Regions from separate parts of the Homo sapiens genome. Here regions 1, 2, 3, 4, 5 and 6 are each linked to region 7. Evidence: promoter capture Hi-C in 16 types of primary human blood cells and fetal thymus (Javierre and others, 2016). All regions are on one chromosome and are shown on one strand. The core of a region is centred on a gene start or on the middle of the fragment in contact, and the rest is flanking DNA. Distances in the headings are between cores, read along the strand shown.

The links. The method cuts DNA at HindIII sites, captures the fragments that hold promoters and counts their contacts. A CHiCAGO score of 5 or more calls a contact.
Region 1: a contact is called between a fragment that was not itself captured here and the fragment with the promoter of FOS in region 7, in 1 of 17 cell types (naive B cells). The highest score is 5.1, in naive B cells.
Region 2: a contact is called between a fragment that was not itself captured here and the fragment with the promoter of FOS in region 7, in 1 of 17 cell types (activated CD4 T cells). The highest score is 11.0, in activated CD4 T cells.
Region 3: a contact is called between a fragment that was not itself captured here and the fragment with the promoter of FOS in region 7, in 1 of 17 cell types (activated CD4 T cells). The highest score is 6.9, in activated CD4 T cells.
Region 4: a fragment that was not itself captured here is called in contact with the fragment with the promoter of FOS in region 7 in 1 of 17 cell types (naive B cells); the score reaches 5.4 in naive B cells.
Region 5: a contact is called between a fragment that was not itself captured here and the fragment with the promoter of FOS in region 7, in 1 of 17 cell types (erythroblasts). The highest score is 6.4, in erythroblasts.
Region 6: a contact is called between a fragment that was not itself captured here and the fragment with the promoter of FOS in region 7, in 1 of 17 cell types (erythroblasts). The highest score is 5.0, in erythroblasts.

The regions. Positions count from the first base shown.
Region 1 is chr14:74,831,915-74,835,596 of GRCh38, reverse strand. It overlaps YLPM1 (YLP motif containing 1), which reads right to left. Exons shown (of 21, transcript NM_019589.3): 20 at 150-332. The coding sequence ends at 186. Among named protein-coding and RNA genes, the nearest start is that of PROX2, 42 kb to the left of the region's middle. The HindIII fragment of the contact is 5,354 bases long and covers 1-3,682 here.
Region 2 is chr14:75,647,322-75,650,806 of GRCh38, reverse strand. FLVCR2 (FLVCR choline and putative heme transporter 2) reads right to left here. Exons shown (of 10, transcript NM_017791.3): 10 at 2,640-3,485. It overlaps ERG28 (ergosterol biosynthesis 28 homolog), which reads left to right. Exons shown (of 5, transcript NM_007176.4): 5 at 1-1,016. Among named protein-coding and RNA genes, the nearest start is that of ERG28, 12 kb to the left of the region's middle. RefSeq lists an enhancer at 2,167-2,461. The HindIII fragment of the contact is 2,210 bases long and covers 1,071-3,280 here.
Region 3 is chr14:75,663,976-75,667,746 of GRCh38, reverse strand. The region is part of intron 2 of TTLL5 (tubulin tyrosine ligase like 5); the gene reads right to left. Among named protein-coding and RNA genes, the nearest start is that of TTLL5, 4.6 kb to the right of the region's middle. The HindIII fragment of the contact is 1,505 bases long and covers 1,621-3,125 here.
Region 4 is chr14:74,855,838-74,859,259 of GRCh38, reverse strand. PROX2 (prospero homeobox 2) reads left to right here. Exons shown (of 6, transcript NM_001243007.2): 4 at 746-853; 5 at 2,265-2,459. It overlaps LOC124903348 (a long non-coding RNA gene), which reads right to left and starts at 754. Exons shown (of 2, transcript XR_007064269.1): 1 at 494-754; 2 at 1-427. RefSeq lists an enhancer at 3,380-3,422. The HindIII fragment of the contact is 241 bases long and covers 1,759-1,999 here.
Region 5 is chr14:74,901,688-74,905,083 of GRCh38, reverse strand. DLST (dihydrolipoamide S-succinyltransferase) reads right to left here. Exons shown (of 15, transcript NM_001933.5): 15 at 1,341-2,888. The coding sequence ends at 2,754. RPS6KL1 (ribosomal protein S6 kinase like 1) reads left to right here. Exons shown (of 12, transcript NM_031464.5): 12 at 1-1,133. Among named protein-coding and RNA genes, the nearest start is that of RPS6KL1, 20 kb to the left of the region's middle. The HindIII fragment of the contact is 3,036 bases long and covers 26-3,061 here.
Region 6 is chr14:74,882,658-74,886,311 of GRCh38, reverse strand. It overlaps DLST (dihydrolipoamide S-succinyltransferase), which reads right to left. Exons shown (of 15, transcript NM_001933.5): 3 at 678-726. Among named protein-coding and RNA genes, the nearest start is that of DLST, 2.6 kb to the right of the region's middle. The HindIII fragment of the contact is 644 bases long and covers 1,095-1,738 here.
Region 7 is chr14:75,277,469-75,280,998 of GRCh38, reverse strand. It overlaps FOS (Fos proto-oncogene, AP-1 transcription factor subunit), which reads right to left and starts at 2,171. Exons shown (of 4, transcript NM_005252.4): 1 at 1,876-2,171; 2 at 871-1,122; 3 at 332-439; 4 at 1-216. The coding sequence starts at 2,016. RefSeq lists enhancers at 1-301, 328-1,253, 1,840-1,899, 1,254-2,181 and silencers at 2,270-2,329, 2,680-2,769, 3,498-3,530. The HindIII fragment of the contact is 6,704 bases long and covers 1-3,530 here.

The DNA of each region.
Region 1 (3,682 bases), core at 396-2,895, 440 kb after region 7:
AAATGTTAACAACTAGTACATACTTACTCTTTCAGAACTATAAAATAACACAAGAAGAGAGCATTTTTAGCAAAATATGCTGTCTTCTTTATCTCAAACCCTTTGAAGCAACCACACAGTAGGCTATTTATATGACTGTGTACTCTTACCTTAGAGGAATAATGACTCCGTTCAAAAACTAAGTCTCATATATATTTGGTTCGATTGAGGGCTTTTTCAGCCAGGTGACCACTTTCATCTGTGATCTTCTCCCAATCAGTCTGTCCGACCACAAAACCTATGGCCCTTTTCCTATCTGCATCCTTCTTCTCTTCCAGGTCTGCCCATCTGACCTAAAAAGAACATAGCATTAGGCTGAGCTTTAGGAAAAATAAATATGCAAAGAGCCCCCTCCCTCTCTGGACAGTCTAAGGGGTAGAATGACTCATTTGAAACCGCAAGTTTAAAAAATTAAAAACTAACCCAGGAAAACTGGGAAAAGCCATATATTTTAAGTCACAAAGAGAAAACTCTCTGGACAATCCAAGTCCTAACCATTCCAGCTCCTGAACAGTTCAGCTCAATCCTGTCCTCTCTTTCTCCTCTGCCATTCCTTTTTATTTAATAATTCACTGACCTCATTTTTTTTTCACCTGAAAGCAAAGCACTAATCTCTACCTAGTCTTCCTGTCTGTACTCACCCGCTCCAGATTCATGCTGCCAGAGTGATCTTCCTAAAACACACAGTTGTGATTCATTTGCTTTAACTCCTTCCCCTACCTACCAGGCAAAGTCCAAGAACTCAGGTCCCTCTTGATCTGGCCCCAACTACACTTTCCTGCAACATCTCTGGCCAGTGCCTATGGCATTTTATACAAACAATACAGACTTCCTTCTAGCACTCAGAGCGCATCGCACCATTTCATGTCTCTATAACTCTGCATATATGTACTAGTCATTCTTCCTGAAATGTCTTTTCCCTAACCTTATCCACTTGGCATGAGTCTAGTCATCCTTCCCTGACTTACCCCTTTTTCCTTTGCCAATCAAATAATCACTGCTTTCCACAGTTAACTTCCGGATTTTGATATGTCTGCTTTTGAACTTCCACACCGTAGTATAATTATCCACTTACAGATCTGTCTTCCCTAACAGACTATCAACACCCTAGATCAATAACTGAATTTTATTTATCTCTACACAAAAATATTTCTTGAAATTTAATCTTAGAGAAAACAGTAAGCTGGTATTATTACTTTCATTCATGAGATAAAGAGACCAAGAAACAGACTCAACTGATATAATTCATGGCAAGATTACAACTACAAATATATGGATCAGGGATATTTCCTATTGGTATTCTGATTTTTAATATATATATATTCTTACATATTATGCTTTTTAAAAATTTTTGTAATTTTTTTTTTTTTTTTTAGAGTCAGAGTCTCACTATGTTGCCCAGGCTGGTCTCAAACTGCTGGACTCAAGCAATCCTCCTGCCTTGGCCGCCCAAAGTGCTAGGATTACAAGCATGAGCCACCATGCCCAGCCACATATTATGTTAATATGTTTTTAAAAGTATATGGAGATATACATATTCTGTAAAAGTTCAGATTCTTAAAAAGAAACTATGAATCTGTTGCTTGCACTACACAGTATCAAAGACTGCAGAGAATGTATTTTAAACATGGCTTGTGATTTATTATCTGTGACAAGGAGAGAGAACCAGAGCATGGAAACACCATGCTCTTTACACTGAACCTGGGAATGCATTATTGCTCTAATGTACACTAATTACCATTTGCATGACTAGCAATGAAATAACTAGGCTTTTAACAGTATCACCTGGTCAAAGGGAGGAGCCAAAGTAATAGCAGTGGGAAGAAACTGGTAACATCTGACTTTCCAGAAAGTAGGTTTTTAGTGTATAGAAAACCTATGGCTCAATGTCTTTCATGGGCTTTAGTAAGAAGCCTAATAAATAATGTGGGCTTCAATATAGAAAAATCTTTGGGCATTCTGCTCATCAATGCTGAAGTACCTATTTTGATTAATTCATATATACAGCCAGGCACAGTGGCTTACACCTATAACTCCAGCACTTTGGGAGGCCGAGGCCGGCAGATCACGTCAGCCTAGGTGTTCAAGACCAGCCTGGGCAACAAGGCGAAACCGTGTCTCTACTAAAAATACAAAAATTAGCTGGGCATGGTGTGTGGTGGGTGCCTGAAATCCTAGCTACTAGGGAGGATGAGGTGGGAGAATTGTTTGAGCCTGGGAGGCAGAAGTGGCAGTGAGCCAAGATCACACCACTGTACTCCAGCCTGGGTGACAGAGAGACCCTACCTCAATAATAATTAATTAATTAAATTTAATTCATGTATATTCTCTCAGCTCCACCTGGATCAAGGATACACATTTTAGCGAAAGATCATTACGAACTAAGTCTTGGGCATTTATGTGAAAACACAATACTGTGCTCAGGATGCCGTGGGAATGGATTTAAATTTGCTGTGGGCTGGTTACTTTTTCTTTGTTCAGTGGCCACAGTTTGCCCCTTATATGGTAAGGCTCATTGAATAAAGAAAAAGTAAACAGCCCACAGCAAATTTAAATCCATTCCCACGGCATCCTCAGCACATAGTTAAATATACTTATCAACCTCAGCACATAGTTAAATATACTGATCAATCTCACCTTGCTACTTTTAAATCTACAGTTTAAATTCTAAGTTTTAAACTCAGATAAAATAAAGAATATAGGATTAGAAGAAAAAATGTGTAGGTGTTTTTGAAATGAGTAGTATGTTTGCGAATAAATGTTCAAGATTTTAACATTGGAATTAGGCCAGGCACAGTGGCTCACGCCTGTAATCCCAGCACTTTGGGAGGCTGCAGCAGACAGATCACCTGAGGTCAGGAGTTTGAGACCAGCCTGGCCAACATGGCGAAACCCCGTCTCTACTAAAAATACAAACAAAATTAGCCGGACGTGGTGGTGGGTGCCTGTAATCCCAGCTACTCAGGAGGCTGAGGCATGAGAATGGCTTGAACCTGGGAGGCAGAGGTTGCAGTGAGCCAAAATCACCACTGCACTCCAGGCTGGGCAACAGAGTGAGACTCTGTCTCAAAAATAAAAAACAAAAAAACAAAAAACAAATGAAGTTGGAATTAAAATATTTTGGAAACTATTGTATTTTGTTAATATCTCTAATTTATACTGATGCTATAGTAAAATTATTTATTTACATGTTGAATTCCTCCACTGGATGTCAGCTCCTTAAGAGGACTCATTCATAGACTTCGTACAAAGACATTCAACATATGGAATGAATAAATGATTACCGAACCACTAAACATACAAGGAGCAGAATAATGACTTTCAGCTTGAAATGGCTTCTTGAATATCAGTGTCCCTTTTAATTTTCCTAGAGGTACTTTTGAGACTTACGACATTTTTGCTGTTGTTTTTTCCTGTAAAAATAAATTTGTTATAATACAGAAAAATCTTAACTAGCCCTCAAAGGTTTGAGGTACTTATATTTCATCCACTGTAACTATAAGTATTTCTAAAATATACAAATTCAGCAAACAAACAAGGGAAAGGTTCACCTTCCATAGTCATCAAAGAAATACAAATTAAAGTCCAAGTAAGCTACCATTTTATACCCAAGCAAGCAAATATTTTAAAAGTAAATTATATT
Region 2 (3,485 bases), core at 926-3,425, 370 kb before region 7:
GAATACACCATAGTGAGTAGGACAGCTCATGACACAGGTCAGCCTGGCTGCCTCCGGCTCCTTACTGTCATTTGCTCATTCCTCTTGTATTCTTGAAGTCAAATCTTCTTTTTTCTCACCTTCAAGAGTCTGCGTTCACAACTAAACACTAAGTGCCCTTTCTTATTTCCTCCTAAAGAAGAAACAGATTCTTGAGAGAGCAGAGACAAAAAAATAGAACTAGGCAGCATAGATGAAACAACTGCATGACATGGGAAGAAGACAACTAAACCCCGAGGAGAATGCACTGGAATGGACAGTTGCTCTTAAACCCTACCCAGAGGGCCTCCCCCAGCTGGACCCTCATACACAGTGTGTGTATCCAAAAGGCCATTGCTATTTCAGCAAATATTTGTTGAGTACTTCTCCATGCCGGACACTTGGGAAAGAGAAATGAACGACACAGGCAATGCCCCTGCCCTGTGGGCCTTATATTATAGTCAAGGTAACAGAATCAACAAGCCAACACAAAAATAAAGAACTTCAAATAGGGATAAGAACTCTAACAAACACAAGGTATTTTGGTCAAGAAGGAATGTGGGGTGGGCAGTGGGGAACGTAACTTAAATTAGATCATCAGAAAGTCCTCCCTGAGGAGATGGGATTTTTTTGTTTTTTAGAGACAGGGTTTCACTCTGTCACCCAGGCTGGAGTGCAGTGGCACAATCACACCTCACTGCAGCCTCAACTTCCTGGGCTCAAGTGATCCTCCTGCATCAGCTTCCCAAGTAGCTGGGACTACAAGTGTGTACCACCACATCCAGCTAACATTTTTGGGGGTGGGAAGAGATGGGGTCTTACTATGTTGTCCAGGCTAAGAGGTGGGATTTGAGCTGAGACTTGAATGCCCAGGAGTTAAATGTCTTAAGATATGGAGCAGGCCGTTAGAAAGGAGGGAGCAGCAACTGGAAGGTAGAATAGTCTTATTCAAGGAATAAGAACTATGTAATCACAGCATGGTGAAGAGTTAGGAAGTGAAAGAAAAGGTCAGAAAAGGAGGCAAGGGGCTTATAAGGGTGTGATAAGAAGCTTGATGTTTACACTTAAATACATTGGGAATTCTCTTATCAGTTAAGTCTCTTTAGGTGAAAGGACAAAACCTACCTTAAACTAGCTTAAACAATAAAGATAGCTGGCTCATATAACTGAAAAATTACAAGATTAGCTTCAGGAAGGGTTTGATCAAGACTCCAGCTCCATTTCTTTACGATTCTTTCAGCACTACCTATGTGTGCTGGCATCCTCAGGCTGACTTCTTTTATGGTACCAAAGTTGGTTGCAGAAATTCCAGGCCTCATATGCCCAGAACACTGTATCTAGAAAAATATCTCAATGGTAAGAACTATCTTTTCTTTACTTGTCAGCTATATTGTTAGGAGGCAGTAAAAAAGCAGTGATGACAGTTAATGTTTGAACACAGATCCACATGAAGACCTTATGAAAGGAGTGAATGAAAACATTGGATGATTTAGGTCCTCTGAGCATGTGTCATGAAAATGTGATGCCCTGGCCGGGTGTGGTGGCTCACGCCTGTAATCCCAGCACTTTTGGGAGGCTGACACGGGCAGATCATGAGGTCAAAAGATCGAGACCATCCTGGCCAACATGGTGAAACCCCGTCTCTACTAAAAGTACAAAAATTAGCTGGGCATGGTGGCGTGTGCCTGTAGTCCCAGCTACTTGGGAGGCTGAGACAGGAGAATTGCTTGAACCAGGAAGGCGGAGGTTGCAGTGAGCCGAGATTGCGCCATTGCACTCCAGCCTGGCGACAGAAAAAGACACCATCTCAAAAAAAAAAAAAAAAAAAAAAGTGATTCCAGATTAGTAAAGGCAGGGACCCAAAGGATCTAAAGAGATGTACAGTTAGAGTATTTAGCAGACACTATGGATATTAGATTTCTTAACAGCCCAGGCTTGGGTCCCTTCCTAGATCATTTAAAATAGAATCATAATATTGTTCCTCCCCAGCTACGAGTTGCTATAAATATGATGCTAGAATACCACAGGCACAGTACAACTCTCTATGGAAAGAATGTACAGAACACAGATGATAGTAGCAGCATATTCAAGTAACACGCACAAGGTGATCACAACTGGGGAGGGATGAGTAACAGGACGTTGGCCAGTTAGGAAGAAAAATGGTAACGCAAGACTGCAGCTGCTGGGACTGAGCCATGGGCCCCAGCCACAGCAAGCTGATGCATGGCTGAGGTAATCAGAGAACAAACATTTCAACCACCCTTTGAGGCAGAGCCAGAAACAACAGTGGACTCTCTCATCAGCAGTCACTCACATTCCAGCGCGTACACAGCATGGAAAGAGGTCAGGGTCGTGCTGGATGTTGAGTTGCAGTCCCTCCATGTAGGCAAACAGTAACCTTTACAGCCTTGTCTTTAAAAAATATCCCTCCCAGATGGTAAGGTCTGGCAACAGTGAGATGCTCCTGTGGAAGACCACAGTTGCTGCTTCTCTAGCCTCACACTCCCCCGCCCCAGCCCAGCCCTTCCCCACACCTAAGACAGGAGCCTCAGGAATGTGTGACAGTCTTGCAGGGACTTCTAAGAGCCATCTCTGCCCCACTGAATGATAAGGCAGACCACTTTCTGAGAAGTTTTTATTGCCTCGAAATGTCAGATCTTACAAATAGAAAACACAAATTATGTTTTTAAAATAAAGCAATAGGTTTGGTAAACATTTTGTTAATACCTTTTGAAGGGTTTATGAGTAAACATCTTTCTCTTTATCAAAAAGTAAAGCACACCCTCACCTCTCTTCCACACTGACTCACTACTTCTGCCGAAAACGTGGACTTCTTTCTTCTATTACATACAGCATGTTCCTTGCATCCATTGCTTGAATCTGTACAAACACACACACACACACATGCAGACACACACAAACCTGGCTCCTCTCAGGCAGTGGCCCAAGCACCACAGTATTGCAGCCAGCACAGGCTGCCCTGATATGCTGAGGCCAGGGCAGTGGCTGGAGCAAGACAGCACAGTGGTCACGATCACAGTTGCCCAATGCATAGGAAAAATTACCAAAACCTCATTTTTAGGAGATATTACCAAAGCCCATGAGTACAGCCAAACAGCAGGCTAGATAGGAAAGATCAGCTTGAGTTGGTTTAAAGGGAATCCCTTTAAGTTTAGAATATCTGATAAAGATTATCGCTCAAAGCAGGTGAGGAGAGGGGTTGGTGGTGCAAATACTGTCCCCAGCAGAGGTGAGATAAGCTTTTAATTCTAACAGGCTCAATTCCCATTTCAAGGGGCACCTTTCCTTCTACCCCTTCCCTCTTATCTCTCAGAAGCACCTTTGGATTTTCAGAGTAGAATGAATCAAGATTAGTTTTCAGCAAAGGTTAGAGTAAGTTGACGGGGATTACCCTGCCTTGGAATAAAACAAGCACTTGGGCTGATGGCTGAGATTCCCAATGCAAC
Region 3 (3,771 bases), core at 1,124-3,623, 390 kb before region 7:
AAAGATCCACACTCTGAATGCACAGTCTGTAAGGCTCCCAATCTTAGGAGTGAGGCAGTCTTTAGACTTGGGACAAGCTGCCAACTGCTTTCTAGTGAAGAAAGCAAAGAACAGCATACCTAGTTTATTCCCCGTTTTCTAGAAATGGCATGTGGATGCTTATTGTTCTTGTTCTTTGACTTGGTGACAGTACCCACTTGTGAGAAACGGTGCTGATAGGGTACCTTTTTTAGCAGGAAGGATTTTTTTGTGGCTTGCTTGCTTCTTCATCTTTAACACCTGTAAAATGTGGGCATGAAGCCAGGTGATTCCTATGATCTCTTCCAACCTTAATTTTTCCACTATATTTCTAAATCAGCAAGTACAGAAAAAAACAGGCAGCCTAAACTACAAAGTCTCAGACAGGAACTCTGGAAACTATCCAAAGTTCTCTGTCAATCTAGCACTAGCTACCAGCTGGCACCACTATGCCTTAGCATTTATAAACAATGGATTGCTGCTCCAATTTTAAAATGCCTGACAAGGGGAGCACAATCAACAGATACACAGCTGAGAAGAGCCCAGGCCCTAACTGTACTATCTGTAGAAAGCCAAGTCTCTAACAGAGAAATCTTTTCATTTCCAACCCATGGAAAGATAAAAGAGAGAGTAAACAGTAAGGTCAGCTAAAAAAAAAAAGCACTTAAGGAATATGCGAAGTTGTCATGAAAAACATATTCCCACCAAGTGATGCTAAAAGGAAAAAATTCAGAATGATTAGGAAACTGAAAATTGGGACTTTATATTCTCATTCACATCAGAAACTGGTACATATTAAAATCCACTTTTATAGGCATGAAAAACAAAGGATTTGAATAATTACCGAAGCAGATCAGTTTTATGATTCACTTTATTGAAAGCCTAAAAACATTTTGGTTTTCCGGGAATAATTTCATGAGAAATAGACATCATTCACTCCTGGGACCCAGCCTACATAACTCAAAGATGGAGCTGTAAGCAGCTTTTGCATTCTTGCTTCTAGGCTGTCTTCATACCACTACCCCTATTAGAAATGCCTTCCCCACTTCTGTTTATCTAAGCCCACTCTCCAAGGCCTACCTAAAGTCTCACCACCTTCAGGCAGCCTTCCCCAGCTCCTTCAGCCCATTACGATACTTCCTTCTCTGAACTCCTATAGCACCCACTTTATAATTGATTGTTAATAATCTTTTTAACTGATATAAAGCCAGCCTTTTACAATAGCAATTAAAGTTGACATTTTTTCAGTGACCAAAGAAATCTTACATCACGTTCTTCTACGAAAGCTTCTATATCTACATACAGAGTTGTATTTGGGATCCCCAAGCAAAATATAGAAAAACAGCCTCTTTACATTTTCTATTTGAAATAATACCATGCAAAACAAGACTGCCTGGATAGTTTCTATTCCTGAAGTCCACGATTGCAAGGAATTAATACTTTAACACAGCCTAGGGATCTGAGCAGATCTAACAGATGTCCATGGATATACATCTTTGGATCAAGTCAACATCTTCCGATGATTTATGGCCTTCAAACTTCTAAATCAACTTTTAAAATGTAAGCCTGCTGCTTCAGGTGTGAACAAGATTGATTTAAGCTTCCTAATGTAAAAAATAAGTGTCTGATAGACAAGACATAAGCTGATGAAACAAGATTAACAGTTAAAAATCAACAGTAGGAGTCTAAAAGGAGGAAGTGGTCCATAAATTTGGATGGGAGCAGAGGGAAAATTACACCTTTATTTTCACTAACTTTTACTAGAAATTCAGTATTTCTTAATTATGAATATAGGCAACGAACCATAGTAATATTAGCATTATCTGTGCCTTTGACGTTATCTAAAATTACAGCAGTTTTTTTGTTTTGTTTTGTTTGAGACGGAGTCTCACTCTGTCTCCCAGGCTGGAGCACAGTGGCACAATCTCGGCTCACTGCAACCTCTGCCTTCCAGGTTCAAGCGATTCACCTGCCTCAGCCTCCCGAGTAGCTGGGATTACCCACAACCACACCCGGCTAATTTTTGTATTTTAGTAGAGACAGGGTTTCACCATATTGGCCAGGCTGGTCTCAAACTCCTGACTGCAAGTGATCTGCCCACCTCGGCCTCCCAAAGTGCTGGGATTACAGGCGTGAGCCACTGCACCTGGCCAATTACAGGTATTACATTTGTCACTACTTCTAAGTTATAGTAGTTTAAGACTCACCCCTAGATCACATGTGATCATGGTCTTTCTATCTAAATGCTAGTGTGATGAGGTTGGACAACAATTGGGCAACTCTCCTCCTAATAATCATTCAGTCACTAAATGATGACACCTCACACTGGTGACCCAGACATCTATGCTGCTTCCCAGTACCCCCGACCTATGATTGTTAATCAAAGGCCACCCTCCCAGTGTACTGATCTTACACAAACTAAACAAAAACAGTCTTCATGTTGTTGTCTTTAGAAAACAAAATTTAACTTTCCCAGATTTGAAATGATCTTATTATTTAATGTATTAGTAAAACAGCACATATTACTATGTTACAAATGTGTTTTAATAACTGCATTTGAATGTAATTAGTACTCTTTGTAATAATATGTATTTTATTTTAAGCCTTAAAAACATTATTCTGGTAAGGAATCCATGGCATAAAAAAGTTAACAACTCTGATCTAAGGTAATGTAAAGTATAAAGCCTTCATTTATTCCTTCATTTCGTTATTCAGTCAGCAAGAATTTACTAAGTACCTACTATAATATTAGGTCAAACTATCTGCAATCGTCAGTATTTGACTGTTTCTGACCTACCAAAATGGCAGTTTCATATAGTTCAATCTAACATTTGTCAGGCCCAATCTGTAAACCCACTAATAAGAGAGACAGTAATGGAGTAAAAGAACAACCTTTAAAAAGGGAAAGACTGATACTTGCAGCAGAAGTTAAAAGTTTTATGAAATGGGTAAGAGGCAGCACACCGAAAGCAAAAAGTCAGAAGAAGGGAAAGTAACCAGAGGGAATTATCCATTTAATTATCCTGAACAAGAATGACCCAAATATACTTTCAAATCTCTATTAGTTTCTATGACCTAACAGTGATAAGAAACGTTTCCTCAAAGCTTTCTTAATGCTTCAACAATTTTTTTCAAATTACAAGTAATCTTGTATCTTACAAGAAGCCCACCATAAATTCAATATTAAAACCAGTAAAAATAATGCCTTACATTTGTATAGCACTTACAAAGTAATTTCACATACATTATGCTATTTGAGTCTAACCAGACCCCTACAAAATAGCCTGGGAGATATTATCTCTATTTTTCAGGTTACATAGCACACACATATCCAAAAGGACTCAGGGAGAATCTTAAAAATGAATTTTACCTTTAAACCAGATTCTCTCTTTACTCTGTGTCAAGCAATAATTAAAGGAGGCAAAAGAGCAAAGTGATCAAAATCCAGAAAAGCTAAGTCCAAATCTCAATGCATCACTTACTCTCTATGGGTCACTGAGGAAATTTCCTGATAAGACTGAGTTTAAAAAAGTGAAAATAATAACACCTTCAGATTTAAAAAGATATAAGATATAGATGAGATAAAGCCTTTATCGTCATCTGTAGTAGCTATATTTATCATTATCATTCTTTTTTTTTTTTTTGAGATGGAGGTTTGCTCTTGTTGCCCGGGCTGGAGTGCAATGGTGAGATCTCAGCTCACTGCAACCTCCACCTCCCAGGTTCAAGCCATTCTCCTGTCTCAGCCTCCCG
Region 4 (3,422 bases), core at 630-3,129, 420 kb after region 7:
AGCCCAGGGTAAGGAAGGCCTAATTTGGCAAGGAAGGGTTTAACAGAGGTGGGAGCTTCTGAGCTGAGACCTGAAAGATGAGGGATAGTTCTGCCAGGCAAATGGAGAGTGGGTACCACCCAACCATTCAAGCTTCTTGAGCAAGAGCAAAATATGAGCTGGTATTCAGCCTGCTTAGATGTTTGCTGGTTATAAAGGCAACACTGTGAAGGCAATGATAAGAGTGACAGCCAGAATGGGGACCACCTAGTTTACTCTTCTCGTTTTACAGCTGAGGAAACTGAGGCAGAGAGGGGAAGTAAATCTCTGCTTGGGGTTTTGAAATGGTTTATCTGGGATAGAATTGCCATCTCTTCCCATCCCACTTGGACACCACACACACACACACACACACACACACACACACACACACACACAATACACCAACCTGTATTTGACATCTAAGACACCACACACACACACACACACACACACACACACAAAATACACCAACCTGTATTTGACATCATCTATGCTACATAACTTTTCCACATCGAGATGATTTTTACATTCTGTGACTTAACTGTGCACATATGTCATCCAGCTTATTTGACCAGAGTTTCCAGAGACAGAAAAATGGAGCAAATACACAATTCCAATCAGAAAAACAAAATGAAATCAAATAGAAACCACAGGAACAAGGAATTCACTAGTTAATTGATAAACTGGCATTTTAAAGTGTTCATTTTCCTTGACACTGAGATAAATCCAGGAGGGTCTAAACCCTGGTCACTTGAAGAAGGCCAAACTAATGTTTTTCTTCACACGATATCCCAGCTCCAACCTCCTGAAGGTTTATTTTCCTGATGTTCAGGTAAAGTCACTCAACTAAATGGCAGCTTCTGCAGAACTCCCAAGAGGCAGTGTGTTTTGCCTGGTGTGAGGCAAGTCCTAGGTCATCATATGTGCACTTCAAGCTCCCCTTAGTGTTGCTGATGGAAGCAATGTCCAGTTCTGGGCTGAGACTCTACCCAAATAACCGTGAATAACTTTAGGCTAGAAAGGCTGGCTGTCTAAATTCTTAAGCTACTGAGCTGTAGATAATCCCCAAAACAGAAACACATGGGCAGGAAAAGTAGAGGGAAACAGAAACACTAGTTAGTGGCCTTTTTGGCTAGTTTTCTGCCTTGGCTGGGGACACTATGAAAAATAAAATATAGGCCAGGCACAGTGGCTCATGCCTCTAATCCCAGCACTTTGGGAGGCCGAGGTGGGCAGATGACCTGAGGTCAGGAGTTCGAGACCAGCCTGACCAACATGGTAAAACCCCATGTCTACTAAAAATACAAAAACTAGCTGGCGTGGTGGCGTGCGCCTGTAATCCCAGCTACTCGGAGGCTGAGGCAGGAGAATCACTTGAACCCAGGAGGTGGATGTTGCAGTGAACAGAGATCACGCCACTGCACTCCAGCCTGGGCGACAAAGCGAGACTACATCTCAAAAAAAAAAAAACACACAAAAACAAACAAACAAACAACAAAAAATATATATAGAGAGGGAGAGAGAGACAGAGTGTCAGACACTGTCAAATTTATGTTCAAATTGCTATAGTTCAAAACTGAGTGAAAGTACATACAGATGAAGTGTGACAATAAGGAAAATCAAACTAATTGTTGGGACCAGACCTCCCCTGTTCCCATAAAAGGTTTCTGAGGGCCTCTTTTACTTTGGGTGTTGGGTTAGGGGCTGTTAATACTTTTGGTCTACATCATTCAAGCTTTTCTTTCCCTCATATTCAGTTGGTTGGTTGATCCCTGAAGCAACCTCTGATTTTGATTTCAATTCATTCCACAATTCAAAGTTGCTAATAAACTGCTCCCTGACCTACATCTTGCCCTTCCCTTGGCCCTTTATCCAAGTGGAAGGCCCCAGGCCTGCCATGCAGTCCACCTGGGTGCAGCAAAATCTGGCACCACACTGGTCGTGACCCCTAAGTCCCACTCAAACACCACAAAAAGCTTTTCATGGGTAAAACAACCCCCATAAATCTAGCATATCAAAAAAAAGTTATGTTCTAATGGGCACTGTAGCTAATTTAGATTTTTCTGAGTATAACTAAATAGGCTTGGAAAATAGCGGTGGCTTCGCTTCTTTTTTTAAAGGAAGCCCCTGTTAATGCTGGTTAAAGCCGTATATGAACCCCTATACTGAGCTGGAAGCAGACAGTTCTAATTCTGAGCACCTCGTGGCAAATGTCTGACTGGATGGACCTCTTGTTTGTACAGTTCAACCGCTGCATTACCTCCCAGATGATCAAGTGGTTCAGCAACTTTCGTGAGTTTTATTACATCCAAATGGAAAAATCTGCCCGGCAAGCAATTTCAGATGGTGTCACAAATCCCAAAATGCTGGTGGTTCTCCGCAATTCAGAACTTTTTCAAGCTCTCAATATGCACTACAACAAGGGAAATGACTTTGAGGTAAGACCATGTACTGGGTTCCCATGAGATCTGATGAGTGTCTTCCCTATATGATTCGAGTTTTAGGAAAGATCCCTCTTCTGTGTCTCCTTAAGTTACTGAGAGCCAGGGCAGCCTGGGCCAATCTCTGTATCATCCACAAAGATTACAGCCTCAACATCTTCACTTGGGCAACAGGTGGAAGCAGCAAACTGAGTCAACAGCCAGTCTTCATTCTGAAGCTTAGTGAGAGGGCTGCCAGGTGTTACACCATCTTAGACTGAATACCCTGTCATTATCAAGTTACATAACTTCCTGACCTTTTTGCCTTAGTGCCAGGAGGCTCAGGACTGAATGCTGAGCTCAGTTGTGGCACCTAGTCTTGGCCTAGGTTTTCTCAACAATTTCTATGCTTTTCATGATTTGATTCTTATCTGTATTTTCCCTTGAAAATGTATCAGTGGGCCTTCCATAGCAAGTCACCTCAAATCCTTTCTGGAAATAACAATAAACAACACTCAAGCTCAGTCCCTCGGGGATCCCTATGAAGGCACACTGGTGGCACCTCAGAGGTAAAGCGTCAGTGAAAGGTGAGCCTAGGTGTCACTGGCGCACATTCCTAATCAAGAGATGCATGTTGCCTCATGCACAGCTGACAGCTGTTAGGCTGGCATCTGATTCTGCAGGTGCCGGGTATATCTGGTCACAGATTACACTTCCCTCTTCTTGACTTCTCCCTTGACTGTGATCACAAAGAGTGGTTTATTGATACCTCCAAAAAATACAAGAACTGTGGTCATCCACTGGTTGACTGGTGAGTCAGAGTATGTTTGGAAAGCTAAGACTACCTGTGGGGAAAATTGTCCATGTCTCCCTTTCTGAGGCTCAAGGGGTCACGGCCAGTATGGGACAGGCAGCACTGCTGCATCTTTCCACATAGGGTGGTCATTTGACCTGCAGTGGCAGCAAGCCCCAAGCCAAGCT
Region 5 (3,396 bases), core at 294-2,793, 380 kb after region 7:
TTTACCAGATAGATAAATTAAAGCTTCTAACACCAAATCCTGTTCTTCCTTTCATTCAACCTAATTTGTTTTTCTATCTACTAGAGCTCTAGTTCTACTCTCTGGGACCCACTTCCCTCCTGTGACAGACCTTCACAGAGGGATGGCCTCACTGCAAGAGCTCAGCAGACAGGGACTCTGGAAAAGACAAGGCTGTGTTTAAGCCTGGACTCCATCACACCTGCCACCTGCAGTCTAGGTTAGCTACCCACCCTGTACACTCACGCTCACTGACCACTGCTCCTAGGTCATCAACCCTCACCTGTTCATGTGTATTGACCTTGAGCATCTTGGTCCACAAGGCTATCAAATCCAAATGAAATGAGATGCCCCCACTCCTCCCAAATCCATCACTGAAATAATGTAAGCCCACACAAAAAATGCAAGTCTACTGGTGTTTTGAAAGGGCTTCACAAAGATGGTGACCCCAAATTCTCTATTCTAGAGTATGGCTTGACAGGCTCAAGGAAGGTGGGGCACTAAGAGACTATGATGCTTTATGGAAACAAAACAAAAAACATCCTAAGCCCCCCAACCATCTGTATGGACCCCTCGTCTCAGTCAAGGGTATTCCAAAGTTAACCTGAAACGCTAGTTCGGGCCATGGTGGGAAGAGGGAGCCAGCCATTCCTCATTATACTCCCCTCCCTTTTGGAATTACTGTTAAAACAGGCTCCTTAAGTCTGATGAGAAGCATTTACAATCTATTTTCTCTGAAGCCTGCTGGCTGGAGGCTTCATCTGCATAAAACCTTGGTCTCCACAACCCCTTACTGTAACCCAGACATTCCTTTCTATTGATTCCAGGTCTTTAGATAATAACTCTTTCAACCAATTGCCAATCAGAAAATCTTTGATTCTGCCTATGACAACATCCCCAGGTCTTGAGCTGTCCTGCCTCTCCAGACCAAACCACTGTACATCTTACATGTACTGACTGGTATCTTATGTCTCCCTAAAATGTATTAAATGTATAAAACTAAGTTGTAGCCAGACGACCCTGGACACATGTTCTCAGGATCTCCTAAGAGTTGTATCACAGGCCATCAGTCACTCACACTTGGCTCAGAATAAATCTCTTCAAATATTTTTACAGAGGTTGACTCTTTTTGGCAACACTTTCCCGGCTGGCAGTCAGGGTTCTACCTTCTGTCAAATTATGAGTGTTAAGTTCCACATAAGGGATTTCTGATTTCACAAAATAAGCAACAGGACCTTGAGTGGCTTTCAATAATTTCAGTGCAACAGTGCTGGGGACTTGTACCACCTCAGTAGCCAAAAGGAACAGATACAGGAACCCTGTTTGAGAATATCTGCCCTTTAATTTGCATTTAAAATCAGTTTCTTTAAATACTTTAGTTACAAGTTCTGAATAGTGAAGACAGAGTAGTAGATGCTGCAGGCACTCAGTATTGGCTCCCACCCCTTCCCCCCTCCCCCACCCCCAGGCCTCACTTCTTGGCTTAAGATACAAAAGGGCACTCTCTACTGGCCCTGGTGTCAAACGTCAGCAGCCTCAGGCCTGGATGCAGTTGGATACAAAGCCATGAATCCCAGTGGCTCCAAGGAATTCCAATGATTGTGCCCAGATCCACGGGCAACACACCTTAGAAATGACCTCATCCGTTTCACCACTAGGTACTAACACCCTCAGGGTGGTTTCCTACCCCAGTCCACGTCCTCCAGATCTGTGTCCTGCAGAGGAAGAGACAAGGCCCCGCTATAACGCAGGAAGGAACAAAAACTGCCTCCTCAGCCCAGGTGCTTACAGCAACTTAACTGAAAAGCTCAAGGCAATGTGAGTCAGTCTAGAGGAGACCTCCCTTCCCTAGTCTCTACCAGGCTCTGGCCCTTCCTCGGGACCACGCTTGGTCCCACTGCCATGATGTGCTAGAATCTGCTCTAAGAACAAGGTGCTAGAATGAGGCCCAGCAACCAGCAAAGGGGTTGGAAAGGGTTGCTACAGCCCCAGCTGTGTGAGATTGTGCCAAGACGAGTCTTCTTGGTGTCAGCCTATGATGGAGAGCGTGAGGGCAGGCCTGGGCTCTCCTTCTATGATGATTACAATGCATGACCTCAGGGGACCTCTGCCCTCTCCTCCCACTCACACACCCAGATCCCCTGGCCTGTGCTTCCTGGAAGAGGTAGAAGAGGCATCTTGAAGTCAATGACAACGGAGAATGAAGGTGCCATTGAAGAAGCAAAGCAGCACCTCTTTGCCTGTGTTCAATCCCTCCACACAAGTGGAATCAAGGGAGAATGTGCACAGCCAGGACAGAGGCTGCTCTGAGCTTGGGAGGCACAGCATCCTCCTAGAAGTCTCTGCAGAACAAACTTTCAAAAGATAGGAACTTAATCACATGGTCCCCAGGGGTTTCTCTATAGTATACCAGCACTAGGGAAAAGCAAAATCATCTTTGCAGAGAGCTGATGGAAGAAAGGCAGGAATATGAATGAGCATCCATTAAGGCTCTCTCTCTTAAGCCTAAGGAATTAAGATATTCGAGGCTATGAGACAGGTGCAGAGAGGGAGAGCCTGGCAGGAACGCCAAGAAAAGACCTGTGACTGCTGGTTACACAGTGCTCTGCTTCCTTGCTTGAGGCCAACAGCATGTGTCTGCCTGTCACCAGGCTAACCCGGGACCCATGAGGGGACAGGGAGAAGACTGGTTTTCAGTTCCTGCATGATCAACTTGTAGGGTGTGTGGGTTCCTCCTAAAGATCCAGGAGGAGGACTCTGGGATCCTCTACCGCTGCCTTGATTTTGCGGAGGAAAGTCACAGCCTCTCTGCCATCAATCAGCCGGTGATCATAGGTCAGTGCCACGTACATCATGGGCCGCACCTCTACCTACAGAGAGGAAAGGTAAATAGGTTTGTCTCCAGCAAGCCACAGCCAGCCTCGCTGAAGGAGATTTAGCACAGCCCATAAGAAAGTTCCTAATTCCAGAGCCTTTCCTATTGATGTTGCCTCTGCATATTTACAGTATTTCAAAGACCAGGACTTACCCTCAGTGCAAAGCTTCCCCACTCAGAAACAAAGTTTGCCAAGAAAACTGTCTTCTCACAACTGCCTTTTATTTTTTAAAAACATACTCTGCCCTCTAACGCATCTGCTGCCTACAAGGAAAGTTTTCCCTTCAGTTCTGGCTGCCTGTACTTGCTTCTCTCTGGGGTTAGAATTTAAAAAAAAAAAAAAAAATTAAGCCAGGGTCTACAAATTCTGGAATTGTATGTGTAGCTGGGTGTATGGGCATTTTCCAGGAAGATCTACAGACTGTGGTTTCACACAGGAGTCAGTAACCCAAAAGGATTCTAAACACAGGAGTTCCCAGAAAGCTTTTTTGATACCAACGTAT
Region 6 (3,654 bases), core at 167-2,666, 390 kb after region 7:
TAGAGTAAGTAAGAAGCTCATCCGCTGACCTCTTCACTTTGAGGATTCTCCCTGTAGAGTAAGCAGCCTGACAGCTGCTGAACAGGTTACTAGAGAGCATTCTCTTAGCACCACCACAAAAACACTTGGAATGCAAAGCAGCATTTAAGCAACATTCATACGCAGAAGTTAATCTGAAACACACATGGGTAGCCTTTCTCCAAACTCTGCATTATGCAATAACAGCATTCCCTCCAAACTAGTCAGTCAGTCCCAGGACTCAACCAGTTTTATGCTTTTACTGTTTTTAAAAATGAGTAACTATGCTACTGAGAGGATGCTCTCAATCTCCACAATAAATGTAACCTCGAGCCTTTCAGCTGCACTTACATCCAAACAGAATATCTAGGAGCACCCTTCTATATCCCATAAAAAGAGGATTCCAACTTAACTTTCATTATAATCCAAACACCTGTGGAGAGTGGGCACACTCCCAGTCCAAAACCTGACACGGAGCTGATGCTCAAGGAACATCACATGGGAAAAGTGAACATTGAGGTTAGTCTAGGGACTCAACATAATCACCTCAATTTCTAGGTCTGGAGGCCAGTGAAGAAATCAGATGGTCAAATTTAGAACTTTATGTCTTTAAATAAATAACCCGTGGCCACATATCTGTACTCCCCAGTGATACTTACACAACCTTCCTGCTGTTAGGGTAACCTGGTCCCTGGCATAAGGAGACCCCTGCAAGAAACAAAATAACTCTTAACCAACAACTCTTATCTCACAAAGGATACATGCTGGGAATGGAAAAGGTCTGCTCACCCCCAACCCTGAGACAGAGCAGGATCAACGGCAACGGATATAATCTTTATCATAGAGTCCTGCTTCTCAAACTTTTCCAAAGTAGCCTTAGTGGCAGAGAGCAAATGGGTATGTGAGATCGAGTGGGTATGTGTTTGGCTGGGGAGGAAAGAGAAAAAATTTGATGGCACAGCCCAAAGTGATTATATAATCTCATCTACCTTAAAAAGCCAGAACTTTTCATTATTCCTGTATGTTTTCATAATAAAATGTCTCTACTCGCCAAGTCTTCAAATACAACTGAAGCTTGAGAAAGACATGGGATGGCTTATCCTGTGACTATACATAACCCAATTTGAGAAGCAAGGAGGATGTTTGGTCTGGGTTTGAAAAGATTGGGTTGGAAATCTTATCACCTGAATCCTAGTAGCAAAGACTTGGCTACTTTAGGCTCGGGGTCTCCAGTTTGTCCTAGAGCTGAGAAAATCATGTCCCCATCTTTCAGTTTATTGACTTCCCATGCCTTTCTGAAGTCTTCCACCCTGGTCACTCTCAACAAGGTGAGAGACCCTTTCTGCCCACCAGCTGTCCTTATCATAGTTAACTGCATTTCCCCAACTGATGACTAGTAACTACAGCTGCCTCTTCTGAATTCTTTCTTATGTCTTTTTTCTTTCAGATTAACAACTCTTTCTGAACCATGGGCTCAGGACACACCAAATGAGAGCTAGCCCTCTCTTATGCCCACCTCCTCACAAGCATCCCAAGATAGGTAAGCCAGTCACCTTTATGTCCAGCAGCCAATGACTATGCAGTGCAAATTCTAAGCATAGTATGTTTTTGAACTAGAATAGATGGCGGCTCACACTGATTTTGGGAACCTGGAGTCCAATTCAGAGTTCATCCTACAGCAAATTTCATTTGTACAGTGCTTTAGGGTTTATAAAAAGCTTTCCCATAATGACCTCATTTTGATTTTACAGTCTCACAACTCTCTGAAGTGGAACGACCATCTGCCATTATTCCCATTTCATATAAGTAGGACTTTTGGAGGTTAAGCGACTAGCCCAAGGTGAATCCCTGAGCCCAAATGCAAATCCCCAAGTGCAAGGCTCTTTCCATTGTCCTGCCCACCTATGAAGTGGAGAAAATGTTTACTGACATTGTTCAGGGTTCCCACTTGAAAAACATGTTTGTTATTGAGAGTCCACTACAAGCCGACATTGTGCTAGGGGCTTTATGTTCTCATAACTCTCAGGATAAAGTCCACACTTTACGCGATCCTGTACCGTCCAGCCCACTCTATCTTTCCTGCCAGACAGGCTTCTTCCCATGTCTATCACTGGTCAAGTCCTTTCCTGTCTGAAAACCTTTGCACAAGCAATTCCCTTTGCCTGGAATACATTTTCTTGGCTCTTTTATATTCAGGTCTCAGTTAAATGTCACTTCTTCAGGGAAGCCTTTACTGACATTCCCAACCTTCCCAAGCTGGTCTACATCATCCCACCCTCTCATCACACCCTTTAATTCCTCTCTCGTAGTAACCAAAATTTATGCCCTTGTCGGAGCATAAATGTATATTTGCTCTCTCTCTCCAGCTAGCCCATAAAATCTCGAGGCTAGAGTCTATCTATACCCCTGTTACCTAGAACAGTGGCTGGCATATAGTAAGCACTCAATAAATGATCTGTTGAGTCCATGAGTAAATGAGAACATGGTGGGTTAAGAGTTCAGGATGGGTCAGGTAGACCTGGCTTATCAACAGCTGGGTGGGTGACCATGGCCAAGGCTTTTAAGCTCTCTTGTCTTGGGTTATGCATTTGTAAAATAGAGAAAATACTTTTTACTGTTTTGAGATGATTAACTAAAAAATTCACAGAAAGCACTCATATAAATGCTTGGCACAAAGAAAGCCCACAACAAGGTCAACTCATTCAACAAATACTTAGGCTAGGCATATAACAGAAAAAAAGCTATGGATGACACTTTTTTCTTTTTAACTGCTAGGATAAAATCTAAACTCCTTCAGTCTCTATACCATCTTCTATCTCTTGCCACTCTCTCCCTTAACCAAAATACTCCGGCCAAATCACCTTTTTTCCAGCTCTTAAGTTCTGCCAACCTCTTTTCTTCCTCAGGGTCTTTGTGAATGCCATTCTCTTTCTCCTGGGCTTCACTGGGTTAGCTCCGTCACATTCTGCTAGCCATAACTTTTTTTTTTTTTTTTTTTTGAGATGGAGTCTCGCTCTGTCGCCCAGGCTGGAGTGCAGTGGCGCGAACTCGGCTCACTGCAAGCTCCGCCTCCCGGCTTCACGCCATTCTCGTGCCTCAGCCTCCCGAGGAGCTGGGACTACAGGCGCCTGCCACCACGCCCGGCTAATTTTTTGTATTTTTTAGTAGAGATGGGGTTTCACCGTGTTAACCAGGATGGTCTCGATCTCCTGACCTCGTGATCCGCCCGCCTCAGCCTCCCAGAGTGCTGGGATTACAGGCGTCAGCCACCGCGCCCGGCCATGGCCATAACTTTTAAGTCACCTCCTCAAAAAGGGCTCTTCTGTCCACCCTCGTTTCCTTCTCAGCAGTTACAAAAATTTGCCTTTGTTGGCTTGTTTAGCAACTGACACTATCCAACTAGCCTAGGAGCTCCACGAGGGCAAGAACTGTACACTTCTGTATCCACTCCTGTATCCCTAGCGTCTAGCACAGTGCCTAACACAGTAGAAACTCAACTACGAGCTAAATGAATAAGCGATAGCTCGTGATTATGTAGCATTGCGTCTCACTACTCTCTGAACCAAACTGTCTTTAAATATTATGAGAAACACAGGCACCCCCGAGTTCCTCACATACTGCTCTGCCCAGGAGGAG
Region 7 (3,530 bases), core at 922-3,421:
GAAGGCCTCCTCAGACTCCGGGGTGGCAACCTCTGGCAGGCCCCCAGTCAGATCAAGGGAAGCCACAGACATCTCTTCTGGGAAGCCCAGGTCATCAGGGATCTTGCAGGCAGGTCGGTGAGCTGCCAGGATGAACTCTAGTTTTTCCTTCTCCTTCAGCAGGTTGGCAATCTCGGTCTGCAAAGCAGACTTCTCATCTTCTAGTTGGTCTGTCTCCTGTATACAGAGGGATAAAGGAAAGCATAAGACACAGTCTTACTCAAGGGCCCTTATGCTCAATCTCCAACTTTCCCCTTAAGTTTTAAAAAGGAGCAACCCACAGAGTACCTACCGCTTGGAGTGTATCAGTCAGCTCCCTCCTCCGGTTGCGGCATTTGGCTGCAGCCATCTTATTCCTTTCCCTTCGGATTCTCCTTTTCTCTTCTTCTTCTGGAGATAACTAGAATAATCACAAAAAAAGACCGACATTCAGTAAAAGTGTCTGCCATCACCTCCATTCACCCACCCCAGTAGAACTGGCTCCTGCAGCTTCCCTGCTTCCTGGCACCCCACTGTGAAACCATTTCTGACCTGCAGTTGCAGACTAGGTGTGACTTGCATTTAAAATAAGATCCTCAGCAAGAGAACAAAGAAGAGCCCAGTCTGAAAGCATGCGGTAAGAAACTTAGGGAAGAAACTATGAGAGTACTTCTTAGGGTGAGACTCAGAGTCTGAGTTGGGATGGAATGGGCTTGGAGCCAGGGCTCCCAGTTACGGATGTGCAGCCAGCCCCATCAGTGGCTTCATCCTCTGTACTGGGCTCCTGCATCTCCGGGGCTGCTTCCCACCCAGCCCCCACATTCCCAGGAAGAGTACGCTAGAGTTCCTCACCTGTTCCACCTTGCCCCTCCTGCCAATGCTCTGCGCTCGGCCTCCTGTCATGGTCTTCACAACGCCAGCCCTGGAGTAAGCCCCAGCGGAGGGGGCGGGGACTCCGAAAGGGTGAGGGGCTCTGGTCTGCGATGGGGCCACGGAGGAGACGAGGGCGGGCTGCACCAGCCACTGCAGGTCCGGACTGGTCGAGATGGCAGTGACCGTGGGAATGAAGTTGGCACTGGAGACGGCCAGGTCCGTGCAGAAGTCCTAGAACAAAACAGAAGGGGAAAGCCGACGTGAGCGAGCAGGTTCCGGACACAGGTGGGGCGAGTTCCCAGTGCCGCATGCAGCAGTGAAGAGAAACGATCCTGCCACGGACATTTCATCTTAAATGTCCCTCATCCTGGATGAAAGGTCTCCCCCTTTTCCTCCCAGGCATTCCGCAGCGCAGTGCCTGTCTCTTCCATCCTGCCGCTGCGTTCCCGTTATCCCTTCAGCATCACTTGCTTGAAAGGGGGTTTGTTATAAATATCCCTGACGTCTGCGCTGACGCAGGCGCCGCTCCGGAGTCTCCAGAATGAACTCGCTTTTTATCAATGAAACTGCCTTACACACCCGCCCGCTGCACCCTCCTCCCTCATCCCTCCTCCGTGCTCCAGGCTGCCGGGGGAGGGGGGATTGCCGCTTTCTGCCACCTCCCCGGAGAAGCCAGGCTCTAGTTAGCGAGTTTGTGCTTGGGACACGTCTGCTCCAGCTAATGTCAGAGATCCGTCCTGGAGTGCAGACCAGAGGTTGCTCAGAACGAACCTGCCTCCCGAAGGGGGAACCAATTCTTACTATGGCAAGCGTGCGTGCGCTCAGAGCAAGTCCCGAGCCCCCGAGCCGGCACCGCTCCGGCCACGGCAGCCTCCCTCCAGGCACAAGGGAGCCCCCTACTCATCTACTGGAGCGTCCCGCCCGGTGTCTCCTCCTCCGCGACCCCAAGCCCCCGGCCCCGCGGCGACGGGAAGCCAGCCTTACCTGCGCGTTGACAGGCGAGCCCATGCTGGAGAAGGAGTCTGCGGGTGAGTGGTAGTAAGAGAGGCTATCCCCGGCCGGGGACGCGCTGCTGCAGCGGGAGGATGACGCCTCGTAGTCTGCGTTGAAGCCCGAGAACATCATCGTGGCGGTTAGGCAAAGCCGGGCGAGGGGCCGAGGGGCGGAGACAGGTGGGCGCTGTGGAGCAGAGCTGGGTAGGAGCACGGTCACTGCTCGTTCGCTGCGCCGCGGCCGCCGGCTCAGTCTTGGCTTCTCAGATGCTCGCTGCAGATGCGGTTGGAGTACGAGGCGCCGCAGCCACTGCTTTTATAACAAGCGTTTTATGAATGAGTGTAAACGTCACGGGCTCAACCACGGTGGCGCCAGAGGGGTGGCGCGCGGGCCTGGGCGCTTCTGCGGCCGCCCGGCTGCGTCCCCAGCGCTCGCAGCTCCCTGCCCCCGCCTTGGCGCGTGTCCTAATCTCGTGAGCATTTCGCAGTTCCTGTCTCAGAGGTCTCGTGGGCCCCCCAAGATGAGGGGTTTCGGGGATGGCTCCCCCCAGGGCTACAGGGAAAGGCCGTGGAAACCTGCTGACGCAGATGTCCTAATATGGACATCCTGTGTAAGGGGGGAGGGATTGACGGGAACTGCTCGCGGGCTGCAGCCAACACCGAGGGTGCAGTGCGGGGGGAGGCGGGGGCCGCGGCTGGGGGAGGGGAGGCGGGAACGGCGCAGAATGAGAGAGAACATTCGCACCTGGTTCAATGCGGACCCTTGTTCCCGAGGTCGGGGGGGATGGGGCAGAGAGCGCCTTTTTACCCTTGTACGGAAACTGAAGACAGTTCTGAGGCTCAGAGATAGGAGAAACGGCATCGAGTACAGGACCCCGAGGACTTAAGCCTCGGCTCCCGAAGGAATGCGCCCCTACCCCCATCCCCAATTCTAGCCCTAATTCAGTGCAAAGCGTGGAAGCAGACCTTCATCCCCTAACCTCCAGCCCTCGGGCTCGAGCAATACTAGCACTGTTCCTGCGTTTGGAAGCAGAAAGTGGAGGATCCAAAATAAGAGAATACGATAACCTACTTTACGATACTGGGTACTTTATTTATTTATTTTTTTAAAGAAGACAGCGCATTTATTTATTTATTTTTCTCGGCCATGTGTGGGAATATTAAGGAAACTGTCAAATCCCTGAGACACCAGCAGATAAACACTGTGCAAAACCTACGTGCGAAGACATTTGAAGGGGGTGTCTGCCCGGTTCTGAGCTGGGCCCCAGGGGTAGGGAGTGCGAGGTGTGGTTATGTGGGCAGGGTGGTCAGTTCGGGATGACAAGGCGGGGTGTGCTTCCTGCGGGGAACTCAAATCTGCGCTGAGGGCTGGTTCGGTCCCGCCAGGAAGCTGTGCTTACGGGAGCCCGCAGCGGGTGATTTTCCAGCGCGGACTTGGAGGGTGGAGGACGGGGGCTGGAAGGACAGTGTCCAGCTGCGCCTGGGCGGAATACCTCGACTGCTGGGACCCCAGGAGCGGCTCCACGTCCTGGAACACGGGGCTTTGGGGAGGCAAGGTGCTCCAGAGTGTGCCACGCCCCCCAATCTCCTGCCCTGCTGCGTAGGACAGCCGGGGTCACGCTGCCGGGGCTCAGCCCCAGCGCGCTG